Regions from separate parts of the Homo sapiens genome. Here region 1 is linked to region 2. The links are contacts of gene promoters, found by promoter capture Hi-C in blood cells and fetal thymus (Javierre and others, 2016). All regions are on one chromosome and are shown on one strand. Each heading gives the region's core, a stretch centred on a gene start or on the middle of the fragment in contact. The rest is flanking DNA. Distances are from core to core; before and after follow the strand shown. Region 1 overlaps RBM15-AS1 (RBM15 antisense RNA 1). Region 2 holds the start of PROK1 (prokineticin 1).

Region 1 (2,700 bases), core at 81-2,580, 120 kb after region 2:
CTTGATATAGTTTGAATGTTGTCCCCTCTAATCTCATGTTGAAATGTTATCTTCAGTGTTGGTGGTGGGGCCTGGTGAGAGGCATTTGGATCATGGGGGAGGATCCTTCATGGCTTGGTGCTGTCCTCGTGATAGTGAGTGAGTTCTCCAGAGTTCTGGTTGTTTAAAAGTATATGTCACTCCACTCTCTCTCACTCCCACTCTCACTATGTGATATGCTGGCTCCCCCTTTGCCTTCTGCCATGATTGTAAGCAGGCCAAAACCTCACCAGAAGCTGAGCAGATGTCAGCACCATGCTTCCTGTACAGCCTGCAGAACTATGAGCCAGTTAAAACCTCTTTTCTTTATAAATTACCCCAGTCTTGTGTATTCCTTTATAGCAACGCAGAATGGCCTAATGCAGTGCTATGATGAAGATTCTCATTCATATGTCCTGAGGCACACATGCAAGAATTCCCCTGGGATAGGATGGAGAGGTGAAGGATACCTAGGAGTGGAATTACTGGATTAAAAAGTTATATTGAAGCTGGCCTGTAACCCCAGCTACTCAGGAGGCTGAGGTGGACAGATCACTTGAGCCCAGGAGTTCAAGGCCAGCCTGGGTAATATAGTGAGACCCTCCCTGTCTCTTAAAAAAAAAAAAAAAAAAAAAAAGGTTATATTGAATATTCAATTTCACAGGATAATGTCAAATTGTTTTCTAAAGTGGTGTTTAGCAATTTACAGTCTCATCAGTAGTGTATAAGAGATCTTATTGATCCACGTCACTAACATTTTATAACTTTTTTTAATCAAATGGACATAAAATAGCATGTCTCTGTGGTTTTGATATTTTATTTCCTTGATTACTAGTGAGGTTGCATATCTCTTTATAAGTTTACTGGCCATATATATTTCTTCATCTATGAAATATCTACTCATGTATTTTGCTCCTCTATTGAATTGTATGTTTCTTATAGGTGTATGAGTTTTTCACATGTTCTTGATCCTAATCCTTTATTATAGAGTGTATGTATGGCAAACATCTTTTTCTAGTTGTGGCTTATCTTTTCACACAATTTAAGCTGATATTTAAGATACAAATTCTTAATTTAAATAAGATTGAATTTATCAACATTTTATAGTTAGCACTTTCTGTATCTTGTCTAAGAAATCCTCATCACTTTCCCCAACCCTGCCACCAGTATTTGACTATATTAAATTTTTGTTCTTTCTTATAAATTATAAGGCAGAGTGGTTCATACCTGTAATCCCAGCACTTAGGGAGGCAGAGAGGGGAGGATAGCTTGAGCCCAGGAGTTTGAGATCTGCATGGGCAACACATAGCGAGACCCTGTTCTCCACAAAAAGGAAAGAAAAAGACAAAAAAAAGTCTCCCTATAAAAAAATTATTTTTCCTTATTAAAAAAGTATTTCAGTGAATATGGATTTTTTCATTTAATTAGGTCTTATTTCGTTTCCTTCAGCAAAATTTGTATACTTGATGAATACTCTTGCATCTCTTTTAGTATGGTTCGTAACTATTGGTAATGGTGTCTTTTTAAATTAAATTATGCTTTTTATTTGTCTGTTGTCAGGATTCGAAATACAGGCCCTTGCTAAATTTTTTTTTTTTTTTGAGACAGGGTCTCACTCTGTTGCCCAGGCTGGAGGGCAGTGGTGTGATCACGGCTCACTGCAGCCTCGACCTCCCAAGGCTCAGGTGATCCTCTCACCTCAGTTTTTGTATTTTTAGTGGAGATAGGGTTTCACCATATTGCCCAGGCTGATCTTGAACTCCTGGGCTCAAGCAATCTCCCCACCTTGGCTTCCCAAAGTGCTGGGATTACAAGCATGAGCCATTGTGCCTGACCCCCTTTTAGTTTTTTATGTAGGCAGTCATATCATCTACAAATAGTAAGAATATTTCTTCCTTTCTAATCCTTATGATTTTGCTTTTCTGGTGTTACTGTGCTGACTTTGACTGATAGAATCTTTGATAGAATGTTACATAGAAAGAATGATGGTGAGCACTATTATTCCTTATTTTATTTTATTTTTATTTTTTGAGACAGAGTTTCACTCTCGTTGCCCAGGCTGGAGTGCAATGGCATGATCTTGGCTCACTGCAACATCTGCCTCCTGGGTTCCAGTGATTCCCCTGCCTCAGCCTCCTGAGCACCAACAGGTCTGTCTAATTTTTTCTATTTTTAGTGAGGAGAGAGGCCATTTCTCCTCCTGTCCCGTCTCCAAAGAAAAGGAGGAAGTAAAAACTGAAAAATAACAGACTGATCGGCGCCACTGGCCAGGCCTGTAGGTTAAAGATTAACCCTCACCCTGGCCAGGCATGGTGGCTCGTGCCTGTAATCCCAGCACTTTGGGAGGCCGAGGAGGGCGGATCACGAGGTCAGGAGATCGAGACCATCCTGGCTAACATGGTGAAACCCTGTCTCTACTAAAAATACAAAAAAAATTAGCTGGGCGTGGTGGCAGGCACCTGTAGTCCCAGCTACTCGGGAGGCTGAGACAGGAGAATGGCGTGAACCCGGGAGGCGGAGCTTGCAGTGAGCCGAGACTGTGCCACTGCACTCCAGCCTGGGCAACAGAGCAAGACTCTGTCTTAAAAAAAAAAAAAAAAAGATTAACACCCACCCTAACTGCTCGTGCTATCTATAGATCACAGACAATGGTATAGAGAAATACTTGCCTTGCTTACCCCT
Region 2 (2,700 bases), core at 99-2,598:
AACCACGCTGCTCCTGCCCTCACCGCGCAGCAGCCGGGGCTTCTCTCCATTGTTCTTGCCCTCCCAGATTTTCAAGCTACCCCATAGAAGGGCAGCCTACAGTGTAAACACTTCATTAGGTATAATTCTGCCTTCACAATTATTTTTATTTTTGCTTTGGATCTCAAAAGCATTTGACTCGCCTTTAATATTTGTTCTTTTGAACTCAGTGTTTTTCCTTTAAAAGAGAAAAGAAAGAATTTGTCCTTTCTGTGAATGGTAAAATTAACCCAATTCCAGGAATTGTTTGGCATTTCTCTACATTTCCACTATCCATGTAAAAAGCTGGTGGAGGCTGAACTAAAAGTTAGTTTCCCTGCTTCCCCGACCTTTTTCTTCCAGTGGATTTTATATGGAAAGCTCTCAGGTACAGCATTGCTTTCTGCTTCAGTAAGAATGGTCCTGCTACCATAACACATCATGTGCCCCTATTTGAAGGTGGTTTGAGGTAAAAGCAAACTTCCGAGAGAAAACCATGATCTGAATATTTTGAACCAATTGTACAGTGCCCATATGCTGAACCTTTGCTTCTCTGCTTCGAGACTGGATATCTACTTGTTATCTGGATGCTTGCTTTGGGGTACACTCAGCTGAATGTTAGTGGCACCCATATTCCTCTCAGAACTAACTAGGCAGGCACAGAGTGAAAGAGTTTCAAAGATATCCTTTCTAAGCGGAGGTTAAGTTTATACAATAGAAGTTTATAAGCTTACCACCTTTAATTAAGCTTACTGCCTTTAATTAAGTCAACATGCTATGTAAATTAATATTAATATTAATATGTGAATCAGACCATAAATAAAAATTAAAATTCACACAAAAGATAAGTTAAGGTTTGCCAATCCACTTTATAAAGGAATTCCTTATTACTTAATAGGAATCTTCACTTTACCAAAGGACTGAACTTCAAAATGTTCAATGCTCTGCTAACACATTGAAAACAGGATTTGATTCATACACAGCTTCTCAAAAGCAGATCCCATTTAGTAGAGTGAGGTCTAACTAGTCTGAAAATCGCATGCAATCCCTTTAATGCATAATTCCCCATTCCCTTTGGTTCACACTGTGTTGAGCCAACAGAGCCTCCTGCATGGTTCCTGGGCTCACAACCCGTGCAGACCCTGACATCTTCCCAAAACCCAAGGCACAGAGAATGTTAGGCGACTTACCCCTGTGATCACAGCACAGTCAGACACAGTTACTAGGAGGAGCATGATTGAGACTCGCGTGGCACCTCTCATGGTCACTTGGGGTGAAGGCAAAACACTGCCTGCTTAGATGCCTCTCGCTTCCTCCCGCTCAGCCTTGTGCCTGGCAAGCTGGGGAGGCCAGGCTCTCCTGCATCCCCCGCCTCCTCCCAGATGTTTACACTCAGGATCCAGGGCTGCCTGTGGATGCCTCATCTCTGCTCTTCCCTTCTCCAACACCGATGTTACTCAGATGATCTCAGAAGCGAAGATGAGACCTGAATCTCTAACAACATCAAATCAACATCAAAACCAATAAAAATGGATACTTGGGGGGCTTTGACGGTTGCTCTAACTCTCCCAAGAACGCAGTGATTCAGACAGTTATGTATATTTCACTCAATGTTCTTTTCTGCCTCTGGGTATCCTTCTATCCTACTTGGGGCAGAGGAAAGCCTCTGGTAATGAATTAAGGGATTTGCAACATCACCATTTATGCTTCCCTGCACCAAACTATGCAACATACAAGATTATTGGTTCCCTCTCACTCACACCAAGACTTATCTAGGCATTTACCATGGGCTCAACACAGAGGTAGCTGAGAAGACAGAAGAGGGTGAGGTGGTATCCTTATTTCTCTAAAAGGTTAAAATTATAGTGAGGAGCCATAAGACAGTGAGGAAAAAAAGACCAGACTTGTGGGGCTGATGTTCCTAAGTGACACACACATAAGGATTTGCTCTCTCATGGGCTCAGGATGAACACCAGCAAGTGTCCCTTGGTACAATGACCCAAGGGCAGAAAGCCAGCAAACATACAGGGCACACACTCTCTCAGTACCCTGCAGAGCCGAGCTGGTATGGGCTGTGGCTGAAAGGTACCAGAGCCACACCACTGGCCTTCCAGTTTTAGGGGTGAGCATGAGAGTGGCCTTATCCGTGAGTGTATAAACACGGTGGTCTCAGATGCCAGTCTGGTGGGAAGTTGACTTTCGGGATGGCCCCTCCGCCTGTGAGGGAAGCCCCTGACCCCAGCCCTCTCTGTGTCATACGACCCAGAGAGAGCTCCCAGTGCTTTGTCAGATGATCTGCCTTCTCTCCACAGTAATAAAAGCCAACATTTCCCAAGGTATGTGTTGCAATATGTTAATACACAAATAAACAAATAAAAGACTTCTACAGTCAAAAATTTGGGAAACACAAACCGGCTTGTTTTTTGCAGAACTTTTCAGGGCCTTTCATATGCTAATAAGTGTTTGAAACACCAAGTGGGAAATGCAGTTTGTAGTATTTCACAAGCAGATTCATCCACAAAACCTTTCTTATCAAATGTCACAGGGGTCTAGGGTTTCCACATTGAAACGCTGATAGGCATTTATGAGTGCAGAGAGGAAGGTTAACTAGCACGGGAGCTGGGAGCTAAGCCCCCAGAGGCAGATGCTTTGATTCAGATCGATGGCTTCATGACCTTGAAA

What was found. The method cuts DNA at HindIII sites, captures the fragments that hold promoters and counts their contacts. A CHiCAGO score of 5 or more calls a contact.
Region 1: a contact is called between a fragment that was not itself captured here and the fragment with the promoter of PROK1 in region 2, in 2 of 17 cell types (M2 macrophages and total B cells). The highest score is 6.1, in M2 macrophages.

The regions. Positions count from the first base shown.
Region 1 is chr1:110,330,502-110,333,201 of GRCh38, reverse strand. The region is part of intron 1 of RBM15-AS1 (RBM15 antisense RNA 1); the gene reads left to right. Among named protein-coding and RNA genes, the nearest start is that of RBM15-AS1, 7.3 kb to the left of the region's middle. The HindIII fragment of the contact is 5,554 bases long and covers 1-2,700 here.
Region 2 is chr1:110,449,797-110,452,496 of GRCh38, reverse strand. PROK1 (prokineticin 1) reads right to left here and starts at 1,348. Exons shown (of 3, transcript NM_032414.3): 1 at 1,209-1,348. The coding sequence starts at 1,280. The HindIII fragment of the contact is 11,265 bases long and covers 769-2,700 here.